Regions from separate parts of the Homo sapiens genome. Here all the other regions are linked to region 3. The links are contacts of gene promoters, found by promoter capture Hi-C in blood cells and fetal thymus (Javierre and others, 2016). All regions are on one chromosome and are shown on one strand. The core of a region is centred on a gene start or on the middle of the fragment in contact, and the rest is flanking DNA. Distances in the headings are between cores, read along the strand shown.

Region 1 (4,137 bases), core at 408-2,907, 730 kb before region 3:
AACAACAAAGCTTGTAAGATATATTTATCTTTAAATCTAAACAGTGAGTATCAGCCTAGGATTGTTTAAGATCAGGAAGTGTTAAATATGGAGTCTTCAAAAAGGAGGGACATATCAATAGTTTTTAACGATCTCAGCCAAATCTGTTAGAGGTAAGAGAGTGGACTAGATTATTCCGTCCATGAAGTTTTGTGGTGGGGGGAAAGCAGTCCCCCACAAAACCATATTTTAAAGGTTTAAACTGACTGGGATGAGGGGAAAATAGAAGACTAGAACCCCTGAGGTGGGAGAAATAGATGGTATGATTTCTTCAAACGAAATAAGAAAACATGAATGTGATCATGAGGGCAGGAAAGGACAGGCAATCATTAATGGAATAAAAAGGGGCTAGAATATTCAAAATATCAGTGGAAAACTAGACTGGAAACTGTTTGATCAAACCAGCAAAAATCAGGAAGAGGAAACATGATTGAAAAATAACGACAGGAAGGGAGAAGCGGCAAGTAATGTAGAGTGTCTGGAGAGAAACGGAAGACAAAAACAAAGACTGAAGATGGTGCTGTAAGAATCTAGCAAGAGGCCGGGTGCGGAGGCTCACGTCTGTAATCCCAGCACTTTGGGAGGCCGAGGTGGGTGGATCACCTGAGGTCAAGGGCTCGAGACAGCCTGGCTAAAATATAGTGAAACCCTGTCTCTACTAAAAAAATACAAAAATTAGCTGGGCGTGGTGTCGGGCACCTGTAACCCCAGCTACTTGGGAAGCTGAGGCAGGAGAATAGCTTGAACCCGGGAGGCAGAGGTTGCAGTGAGCAGAGATGGAGCCACTGCACTCCAGCCTGGGCAACAGAGCAAGACTCTGTCTCTCAAAAAAAAAAAAAAAAAAAAAAAAGAATTTAGCAAGAATATAATCATATACACATGTAAAAGTTAGATGGGTGTGCATTTTTCAAAAGTACTGCTCAAGAGCTTTTTAGTTTTAGAAAAAAACCTTCACCTTATGTAAATAAAAATAAGTATACAATAATAATAAACTTTAGCATGGATATACAAAATAAAAGTATAATAACAACTGATGCATCCTGAATTGCAGAGAAAAGAGTAATTTCAGGAAGATCATTTCTTCTGATCACTAAAGTTTAGTTAAAAGTAAAAAAACATAGACCTGCCGGGTGTGGTGGCTCACACCTATAATCCCAGCACTTTGGGAGGCTGAGGCAAGAGGATCGCTTGAGCCCAGGAGTTTGAGACCAGCCTGTGCAATATGGTGAAACTGCGTCTCTACAAAAAATACAAAAAAAAAAAAAAATTAGCCAGCTGTGGTGGTGCACGCCTGTGGTCCCAGCAACTTGGGAGGGTGAGGTGGGAGGATTGCTTGAGCCCAAGTGGTTGAGGCTCCAATGAGCCAAGATGGCACAATTGCACTCCAACCTGGGTGGCAGAGCAAGACCTGTCAAAAAAAAAAATTAAACCAGTTTTTGACGAAAAAAAGAAAAACTCGCCCCACAACCGCCAAAACAAACAAACAAACAAAAAACCAAACTCAGAAAACACTTTCTGGCATTTTTAAGTGGTGGTTGCAGAAAAGAATTTAACTTTTCCTTAACTCAAGGACAAATACCTAACATGAGACTTAGGATAGTGTTGCATACAGAGGCCACAAAGTGTGATAGCTAAGAACTGATACTTCAAGTTAGATCCTGGTTCAAACTCAGACTTGGCCACTGTCTGGCTGTATAACACTGGGTAAGTTACTCAAGCCCTCTGAGCTTCAGTTTCCTCATTGCTAAAATGGAGGTATATCACATGACGGATGTCAAGTTTAAATAAGGCATGCAAAATGCTGATCTCATGGCTTAGCACATGGCAAGTGTTCAGTAAATGGGCCATTATTACTTTCTATAAAAGCAAATGTATGGGGGCTCCCCTGGGAGATGCTGGTATGTCCTGAAGGCCCCCCACAGTGGGGCACCCTGGACCTCTTAGCAGGAGAAGCCACTTGGAGGAAGCTCAGAGGGAAGGGAACACATGGCCCATGTTTGAGAATGCCAAGGGTGTCGGGAACATGGTGTTGAGGTTCCTTGGAGCCTTTTCCACCCCAGGCAGATGTACTTGAAAGGCAACACTCTCCCTACACAGGAGGATAAACTGAGGTGGGAAGTGGACAGGGGGAGCCTTGGAAGGAGAGTCAGATCAGATAGGCTTCTGTTCCTCACCTCTATATGGCCTTCACGTGCCAGAGGCCCTCTATTGGACTTGGGCTCAGTGGATGGACAAGAAGCTGCTGGCCATGCTGGCCACCCAACCTGTTTGCTTCTGATGTCCCACCACCAGCAATTCTACTCTCTCCATTTCCTGGCTGAGGACCCACAAGGAGTTCCATGGAGAGCCTCATATCAGTGTATCCAGTTGCAGCACCAGCAATGGAGCCTGGTCATGGAGAGTATGGTGGAGAATAAGTTTGGCAGCATCCTGCAGATATACACACTGGACATGCTGGATGAGGGCTACAGAGAGGGGCAGGCAGACGGGCAGCCTTCCAGTCCCCATCTGCCCCCACAGAGTGCTCTCCTCACTGACTAATTCCGCATGCATGGCTGCTGCCCAATCAGACAGTGGTGCTGGGCAGTGAAGTGGAGTCCCACTGCAAGGTGTACAGCAGCTTAGCACTTGGAGGTGAACAGCAGCAATGTGGACCCTGCTGGCATAACATACCTCACCATGCTCAAGGTGGGTGCCACTGCTGGCTAAGTGCAAGGGGTGGGTGGGCTGGGGTGACACTTCACTGAAATCTACCAGCATTATAGAAGTTTTGGAATAGCCTATGAAAGAGAAACTATGGTACCAGCCAGCAGACAAAATCCTCTGCAGTGAGCAATTCTGGACATGAACTTGCTGCTGGTTCGCAGCATCTGCCATGAACTGCAGTCTAAAATTAGATGCAGTTTTTCCTAAAGTAAGAATATGTGTGTCAGTCAATAAAAATGGGAATCACCCCTATGACTTCTGTCCCTCATAATCCTGCTTCTCCCTCTGTAACTTTGTGCTCTCTGAATTCCCATACTGAGTAAAGAACTCCTTGGTGAGCTTATCATCAACCTCACATATTTAACAAACATGATTTTATCTTAAGACCCACTCTAAAATTATGTGACAAAGTCTATGAATTATAATAGATGACAAATTAAAGAATTAGGACGGGCCATTATGGAAGTTGTAGAATTAGTTATATTTGTATCTATGAGTTTTCTATTGGCCTATATTCATTACTTGTAAAATATATCATGTTTCATTCTGTCAAGCTTAAACTGATATACTTTATAATAGAAGGTGTCCCAGCCAAGGACCTGCTAGGTGACCACTGCTGCACCACAGGCTTCTGTCCCATCATCTGCAGAGACTCTGGTTTCTTCACAACAATTCTTGGGTGGCAGATGGGCAGCTGTGTACCTGGGACTGCATCACTGAACTTTTCAGGGATGTAGGATGTTCTAAGCTCCAACTTCCAGCTAGTCTACCTAACACTGTTTGAAATTCTTTGGTGTAGTATGAAGATGGAAATAAACAGCTCTGAATGCTGGGGGAAAACAAACAAACAAACAAATGTAGGACTAAATAGGAAAGGACACTGGAACTTGCTCCAGATATCAAAAGTTCCTTGATATCCACTTACTTTTAAATTATTTGCCTCTTTCAAATAAAGAGAAAGGATACCTATGCAGTTGCATGATTTCAGAGCTGAGCTTCCACTAAATTAATCACTGAATCAAAGTCTGTTGTGTTGGAGAAAAATAAATATGAGATGTGGAGTCAGAAGACCTTGAAAATACCTTTTCATTTTGTTTCCTCTTTTAATGGGTCATACTAACTCTGCTGTAAATATCAACCCTCAGAACTGTGAGGATCCAGTAACATTATGACAAATTGCCCTCAAATATTGTTATTATTACAGACCATGCAGCAAATACTTCCTTGGCAGCTGAACTGACCGGAGCCCCTAGGGTACCTTAATCATGGCCCCGGTTTGAATTCTGCCGTGTGCTCGTTGGAGCTGCAGAAGTTAACAAGTTGCACGACCTTTCAGTGACCGTCCCTCTAGATCACAGGTTCTCTGTAAGGAACAGAGATATCTAACGGGCT
Region 2 (4,335 bases), core at 1,046-3,545, 720 kb before region 3:
ATTAAGAATGTACACTGTAAAACCTTAAAACTACAAAACCTTGCTTAGAGAAATGAAAGAATGCCAAATAAATGGTAAGATATACCATGTTCACTGATTGGATCACTCCATATTGCTAAGATGTCAATTCCCGCTAACTTGATGTAGAGTTTTACCTCAGTTGCAGCATGATTTTTTTTTTTTAGAATTGTCAATTGATTCAAAAATTTATATGGAAATGCAAAGAACGTAGAATGACGAAAACAATTTTGAAAAACAAGAACAATATTGGAGGATTTATACTACCTTCTTTTAAAATTTATAAAAGCTAAAATAATAAACACAATGTAATATTCATGTAAGGATAGACAAATAAATCAATGAACAGAAGATGGTGTGTGTGTGCTTTTGTGTAGAATTGCCTTTCACGCAGTATTTTCCACAAATGATGCTAGAACAACTGGGTTATCCATTAAAAAAAATGAACACCACACACACCTTACTTCATACTCTTTTTACATAGTAATTTGACATGGCTTATAGGCCTAAACATAATGCTAAACTTATGACATTTTTTGAAGAAAAATATCAGAAAATATTTGTGACTTTGCGTTGGCATGGATGTTTTAGGCACAGAGAAAGCATGGAATATGAAGAAAAAATGGAAAAATAGAACGTTATCATAATTAAAATATTCTGCTCATAAGACCATTAAGAGAATGGAAAGGCAAATACAAACTGGGAGAAAATATTTTCAAAGTATATCTGACAAAGGATTTGTATATAAACATAAAAGAACCTTAGGATTCAATGAGAAGATAAAAAAATCCCAAGTAGAAAATGGGCAAAAGATTTCAACAGATTCACCATGAAAGAAGATATGCAAATGGCCAATAAGCACATGAAAAGATGCTGAACATCACTAATCATCAGGGAGTGCAAATTAAAACACAATGAGGGCCTGGCGCGGTGGCTCACGCCTGTAATCCCAGCACTTTGGGAGGCCGAGGCGGGCGGATCACGAGGTCAGGAGATCGAGAACATACTGGCTAACACGGTGAAACCCCGTCTCTACTAAAAATACAAAAAAATTAGCTGGGCATGGTAGCGGGCGCCTGTAGTCCCAGCTACTCGGGAGGCTGAGGTGGGAGAACGGCGTGAATTCAGGAGGCGGAGCTTGCAGTGAGCCAAGATCGCGCCACTGCACTCCAGCCTGGGCGACAGAGCAAGACTCCGTCTCAAAAAAAAAAAAAAAAAAAAAACCACAATGAGATACAATCACGGATTCACTAGAATTACTAAAATTAAAGAGATTGACAATACGAAGTATTTACAAAATGTGGAGCTACTGTAACTCATAAATTAGTTATGAGAATATAAAATGATAGAACACTTTGGAAAACAGTCTGGCATATTCTTATAAAGTTAAAATACAATTATCATAGGACCAGCAATGCTGTTTAGGAATCTACACAGGAGAAAGAGAGCATATGTCCACATAAAAAATTTTACATGAATGTTCATAGCAGCTTTATTCATAACAGCCAAAAAAAAAAAAAAAAAAGCAAACAACTCAAATGTCTATGACTAGGTTGATAAATAAACAAATTATAGTATATTCACACACTGGATTACTACTTAGCAATAAAAAAGAGCAAAGTACTTAAACATGTAACACATAAATGACTCAAAAATAAACTGAATGAAAGAAAATACACAAAAGCAAACGTACGAAATTTTAGCAAAGACAAAAACTCAACTAAAGTGACAGATAAGTGGTTGCTTGGGGACTAGGGTGGCGATAATTTGCTACCAAGGGGACAAGGGAACTTTTTGGGATGATGGAAATGTATTGATGACTGTGGTAGTTATAGAGGTTATACATTTGTCAAATCTCATTCACATATAAATATAAGAAATAGGTGCACTTTATTGTGTATAATTCATACCTTAAGTTGATTTGAAAGACCACGACAATGCATGACTCCCTGACAGGACCGCTGGTCAGCTAGCAGCAACCATTTTACTAGTCATATAAGTTTATGTTACACTGATTCACTATTTAGGTTAGGAGGAGAATATAGCTCCTTTGGTACAGCGATGGGGGCTTTGCCTGGCTAGAATTTATCATGCCCTTTGAGCAGTGGGTGATGTGATGAGATATCCCCAGGATGAAGAAAAGGGAAGGCAAAAGTGCAAAAGTCTGTCATATGGTAACTAATATTCTTGACCAGACAACACTTCTATAGGTCCCAGAGAAATCTGAGTAGAGGGAAAGGCCAGACAAATATATGCTATCCCTTGTCAGGATTTTAGCTCCTCATGCTGCATTTACATTGTGAGAAGTGAGTTTTAAGAGATACCAAAAGGGAACAAAGCATTAAGAAAGAACAATTTAGGCTGGGTGCAGTGGCTCATGCCTGTAATCCCAGTACTTTGGGAGGCCGAGGCAGGCAGGTCACCTGAGGTCGCGAGTTCGAGACCAGCCTGAGCAACATGGTGAAACCCCATCTCTACTAAAAACACAAAAGTTAGCCGGGTGTGGTGGTGCATGCCTGTAGTCCCAGCTACTTGGGAGGCTGAGGCAGGAGAATCGCTTGAACCTGGGAGGCAGAGGTTGCAGTGAGCCGAGATCATGCCATTGCACTCCAGCGTGGGCAACAAAGGCGAAGCTCTGTCTCAAAAAAAAAAAAAAAAAAAAAAGAAAGAAAGAAAGAAAGAACAATTTTCATGGGAGCAAGGGTGCATAAACTCCTTAGTGTTCTACTCCCAACCTTTCAACAGTAATAGCCCAGGCTTATATTGTGTTCATTGTGTACTACACATTTCTTTCATATATATATATATATATATATATATATATATATAGTATATGTCATATATAAAGACACATGCTGCATACAGATATTTGTGTGTGTGCACACACATATATATTTTATATATATAGTTATGCATCATTTAATGATGAAAATGTCCTTTGAGAAATGGATTATTAGGCACATTTATCATTATGTGAATATCATAGAGTGTACTTACACAAACCTAGATAGTAATAGCCTACTGCACATCTAGGCTATATGGTGGTCCAGCCTATTGTTGCTGCTTGGCTACAAACCTGTACAGCATGCTGCTAAACTGAATGCTGTAGGCAATTGTAACATAATGGTAAGTATTTGTGTATCTAGACATACCTAAACATAGAAAAAATACAGTAAAAATACAGCGCAAGAGATAAAATAATGGTATATCTGTATAGGGCAGCTCCATTATAATCTTGTGGGACCATAATTGCATATGCAGTCTGTTGTTGGCAGAAGCATTGTTATGTGATGCATAGCTGCATATAATTTATTCCTATCTCATGACAACCTTGATTATCACTCCTATCTGACAGTTTGGTCATTGAGACACAGAAAGAATAACTAGCTTGCCCAAAGTCACACAGCTACTAAGAGACAGACCTAAGATTTAAACCTGTAGATTATGGTGCTTTCCACAATTCTGCCAGTTGTGCTCTTAAGGTATCAGCACTTCAGAACGATTCCCCTCACAGGTAGAATCAAGCAAAGAGAGACTTCACCTCCCAGTTCAGATTGAGAAATATAAAAAAGAACCCCATCCTTTATGTATGTACATATGTATGGTGAGTGTATTTGCTGAAGGTAACTGCCTACTATCACTTATTTGATTTTTCATTTAACAAATATTTGTTAAATGTGTGACTTCCAGGTATCTGATATTATGCCAATCATTGGGGATTCAGAAATAAATACATTGTAATCCCCAGTTTCAAAGGACTGGAAATTCCTCCAGGATGACTGTGAAAGGCACATAGTGCAGAGGAGAGTTAGAACACTGACCACACTAGCTATAGGCTGGATATTTAGGCCATACAATATCCATCTACATTCTCAGGAGACTGTCTGCACTTGACTCACTGAAGGTCACACCTGGGCATCCCTGGGGATCCTCTTATCTTTACCATTAAGCAATGTGAAGCCATAAAATGATTAGGGTTGGCAGGCTTTTAGAGGATTAATGTTCTAACAAATTGGGTGATTTTGCTCAGCTTAGCTATTGAGGATAACATATTGTGAATTTACTGAGCTCATCTGTGACCAGATTCCTCTGCAGGGTAATTGAAAGTGAGTGGAAATGGCTATTTATGTATTCTCAGCCATTAGATGTTGCTTTCATCTCTGATTTCTTTGGATGATGAGTCAAAATATATACTGAGATCATTGCCTGTGGGTTCCACTTTGCATGTTCAATTAACTAAGGCCTGTGCTTAGTACTGGACATTAAAAGACAGATGGTGAAGGGAAGCTGGACTCAGACTTCAGAAGTGACCCACCA
Region 3 (4,391 bases), core at 1,567-4,066:
TACAAAATACCTCTGAAGCCATAACTGGCTAAGTAACTCAGTTGGTCAAAAGGTCTAGTTTGTACATGAGCAGTGGACGGTGGCCTAGGATAAAGGGCATGTTGCAATTGAAGGATTGTGGGAAGCCCTGAACCTCACTGGGGTTGTAGCAATGTCCAGTGGAATCCAGAGTCAGAGACATAGAGGACCAGATGAGAAGTAAAAATGAGAGGCTCAGTAAGATTCTCAGCATCATCCAGTGTGGGCCCAAATTACCATGGAATCTGGACCCATAGCACTATAAGGGAGGTATCCTAAGGGGGACATCAGAAACAAGTGCTGTCCATGGCATCTGGCCATGGTGAAGGCCACAGGCAAATATGTGGAGTAGACAGAGAATCCCTGAGAGGTACTACAACATCCTATGGCAACCTTTGGGGAGGGGACTTCAGTGGCCTCTGGGAGCCCTGGTTGTCACAGTTGGAGACAGCATCTGGGGGCCTTGGAAATGTGTCAGTTACTGCAGGTAAAGAATCTTCTCTGATCCTGGGGTTGGAATAAGAGAGACACTGACATTTGTCACCATATTCCATAGCCGTGGATCCAGAGGATTGATCATGTATTGGAGGAAAATATCCCTAAACTCAGTGTCTTTAGACCCAGCAGATGAGTCAGGAGCCCAGGAGATTCTGGAAAACTTAGTTGGAGTCAGAACCCTAGAGCCGTAAAAGTGGTCCATTGCTACAGCCTTGCCCATGTTCACCAGGCAAGTGTCCCTGGTGAACTTAATCAGTTCCAGTCCCCACCAGTGTCCCTGGAAAACTTAATCAAAGGCACAATGACATTGGGAGGAGTCATGCAGACAACATCAGGGAGATTACTAGTAGTGCTGTTGAGGGATAGCAGGCACAGGCCAGGGTGCATGGTTTCATCACGATCCAGTGGGGGCCCCAGGAGTTGAAGATCAGGGACACAGCAGCAGCCAGAAGCCTTGGCAAGATGCTGAAGGCCACCACTCAAAGGGACAGATTTGTCATCAAATCATTGGCAAGCGGGAGCTGAGGCCTGTGGCCTTGAGCTCTACTCCTTGTACCCATTAAAAGGCGCCTCTTGGATGCAGGCTGAACAGTTGGCTCCTCAGTCCCCAGTTCTCGAGTACAACAACCATGACCACGACCACGACTGCAACCTCGACCTTGACCTTGACCACGACCACGACCACGACCAGAACCCCAGCTTCCAGTGGAAGGGAGAAGAACCCTGGCTGACATCCCCAGGGTAAGTGACTGGGTCTGGGTATGATATGCAGAGCTTTGGAATGCGGATCCAGGCACAGCATCAGTGCCACAGCCTTTTGGGTTGTAACAGTGCCCTGAGGACACAGGCTGTGTGGGACACTGGGCTGTGAGGTTTGGGAGAAGCCTCAGGCCCAGAGCAGCTCTTCTAAGTACTATATCATCTCTCCAGTTGCTCAGCTCTTGGCTTTCTGCAACCCTGGGCTCTGTGTGTTCCACAATGGCCAAGTCTTGCCTGTGTTTCCAGAGCTCATAACTCTCGGGTTGCACAATGCGCACAAAGGGGTCCATGGAAAAGGTCACTGTCGACTCCCCACAGCTACACTGAGAGGCCATTTTGCCATAATCAATCCATCGTGGAGTGGCAAAATTAATGGCTTCTGCGCAGTTGAAGCCGTGATTGAAGCCAGCATGGTAGCCATAGGGAAAGGTCACCATGAACTCCCCAGCCTCCTGAGTCATGCAATTGAAGGGAATCCCATTTTCCTTGAGAACTGTAGGCGAGATGAGGGCCACTTTGTGCCGCAGGAAGGCCTCACAGCCCCGAGAAATGTCTGGGAAGAGCTCCCTGGCCAGGCGTTCCAGGTGCTGACCATGTTCTGGGGGCACCACGTACCAAGTTTTGGGCTCCCCAAAGTGCAGGTAGTTGATGCTGTAAAGGTCCATGTCCTCTGTGTGCCAGGCAAACGTGGTCTTCCACATGCCAAAGTACAGGTAGGGTGTGTTGACACCCTCGATGACAACCCCACATTCCTGCTCCAACAGGTCCAGAATTGTTCCCAGGTGTCCTAGGTTCCATTGTTTAGTGCTTTCTTCAAATAAGGAGCCGCTGATATCAGCACCATAAATTGGTGGATTACCGGGGTGGCTCTTCCAGTATCGTTGCTCCAAATCTGCAAAATTCTGGTGTGGCGGAGTCTGATATTTTTTACTGTTTGCCAAGCGGCGATACTGCCCCACCCTCATGGCTTTCTTCTTTTTATGGTATTGAGTAAACACACCTCCCTGCCCAGAGGTCACCTGCTGGAGGGGAGTGGCTATTAAGATGTCTTCGATATCATCATACATCTGTCTGGCTTTCCATTCCTTGGGTGGAATTACCTTGGCAAGGCCAGCTTGATGTGCGCCTTGGGACTCCATGTAAGCAACATATGTGTTGAAATCTGCAAATTCTTCCATGGTTGGGTAAAACGTCATGATGGTATGACTCGTGTTCTGGGGACTGGAGTGCACAGACTTCATGGCTGCACACAAGAAGCAGCTGACTCCCACGTTCTTGGGTGTCCTCTAGATGCCTGAGAGTTCTGGGGAGTAATTTCTTTTCTCCCCTTTGTTTTTCAAAATACTTTGGTTTATCTGTGAGACAGTAATTCACACTTGGACTTTTGAACAAGTGAGATCTTTCACAGGCTTTCTGACTCCCCAGGGGGACTCCACTCTAGTCAGTATACTTTTTTCTGAAGAAGTAGAGTATGTCCCAGCTCTGTGAGTTTCCTCAGTTGGGGGTGTCACTGTGAGGCTTCTCCTGATTCTCAGGCTTGGGTGCACTAGTAGCAGCTAGTGTCCCACTGTACCTGGGGGTCTCTTCTAGGAAGTCGAAACAATACACCTAAACAACAACAACAAAAGATACAGAATATTCATATTTTTTAAATAAGTATATAACCAGACAAAAGAAATATTCAGCTAGCATTAAGCTAAGCTAAAACATATGCTAACATCAGGATATGTAAACATTGTCAGGCCTCTGAGCCCAAGCTAAGCCATCATATCCCCAGTGACCTGCACATACACATCCAGATGGCCTGAAGCAACTGAAGATCCACAAAAGAAGTGAAAATAGCCTTAACTGATGACATTCCACCATTGTGATTTGTTTCTGCCCCACCCTAACTGATCAATGTACTTTGTAATCTCCCCCACCCTTACGAAGTTTCTTTATAATCTCCCCCACCCTTAAGAAGTTTCTTTGTAATTCCCCCCACCCTCGAGAATGTACTTTGTGAGATCCACCCCCTGCCCCCAAAACATTGCTCTTAACTCCACCACCTATCCCAAAACCTGTAAGAACTAATGATAATCCCACCACCCTTTGCTGACTCTCTTTTTGGACTTAGCCCGCCTGCACCCAGGAGAAATAAACAGCCTTGTTGCTCACACAAAGCCTCTTTGGGGGTCTCTTGACACGGACACGTGAGACATTTCGTGCCGAAGACCTGGGTCAGCGGGACTCCTTCGGGAGACCAGTCCCCTGTCCTCACCCTCACTCTGTGAAAAGATCCACATACGACCTCCAGTCCTCAGACCAACCAGCCCAAGGAACATCTCACTGATTTTAAATCAGGCAAGCAGCTCTTTTTACTGTCTTCTCCAACCTCTCTCACTATCCCTCAACCTCTTTCTTCTTTCAATCTTGGCGCCACCCTTCAATCTCTTTCTTCTCTTAATTTCAATTCCTTTTATTTTCTGGTAGAGACAAAGGAGACACATTTTATCCCTGGACCCAAAACTCCGGCGCTGGTCACGGACTCGGGAAGGCAGCCTTCCCTTGGTGTTTAATCATTGTGGGGATGTGTCTCTGATTATTCACCCATGTTCCATTGGTGTCTGATCTCCGCATTCACCCACATTATCATTCACCCACATTCCCTTGATGGGCAAATCAACTGTGGGGACAGCTGCTTTGGCTGCTCCCCTACGTTGCAGCTCAGGGCTGCTCCCCACCCCCCTTCTCTGTGTCTCTACCCTTATTTTTTAAACTTGCCTCCTTCACTATGGGCAACCTTCCACCCTCCATTCCTCCTTCTTCTCCCTTAGCCTGTGTTCTCAAGAACTTAAAACCTCTTCAACTCTCACCTGACCCAAAATCTAAGCATCTTATTTTCTTCTGCAACACCACCTGGCCCCAGTACAAACTCGACAATGGTTCTAAATGGCCAGAAAATGGCACTTTTGATTTCTCCATCCTACGAGACCTAGACAATTTTTGTCGAAAAATGGGCAAAAATGGTCTGAGGTGCCCGACATCCAGGCATTCTTTTATACATTGGTCCCTCCCTAGTCTCTGCTCCCAAAGAGACTTGTCCCAAATCTTTTTTCTTTCTCTCCTGTCTGTTC

What was found. Contacts are between HindIII fragments. The CHiCAGO score rates a contact against its expected background, and 5 or more counts as called.
Region 1: a fragment that was not itself captured here is called in contact with the fragment with the promoter of KDM4E in region 3 in 4 of 17 cell types (M2 macrophages, total CD4 T cells, fetal thymus and 1 more); the score reaches 6.6 in M2 macrophages.
Region 2: a contact is called between a fragment that was not itself captured here and the fragment with the promoter of KDM4E in region 3, in 6 of 17 cell types (M2 macrophages, neutrophils, monocytes and 3 more). The highest score is 6.8, in M2 macrophages.

What each region holds. Positions count from the first base shown.
Region 1 is chr11:95,755,547-95,759,683 of GRCh38, reverse strand. It overlaps the pseudogene FGFR3P2. Among named protein-coding and RNA genes, the nearest start is that of FAM76B, 32 kb to the left of the region's middle. The HindIII fragment of the contact is 3,289 bases long and covers 13-3,301 here.
Region 2 is chr11:95,739,344-95,743,678 of GRCh38, reverse strand. No RefSeq gene overlaps it. Among named protein-coding and RNA genes, the nearest start is that of FAM76B, 48 kb to the left of the region's middle. The HindIII fragment of the contact is 8,213 bases long and covers 1-4,335 here.
Region 3 is chr11:95,023,683-95,028,073 of GRCh38, reverse strand. It overlaps KDM4E (lysine demethylase 4E), which reads right to left and starts at 2,816. Exons shown (of 1, transcript NM_001161630.1): 1 at 478-2,816. The coding sequence starts at 2,516. The coding sequence ends at 996. The HindIII fragment of the contact is 8,893 bases long and covers 1-4,391 here.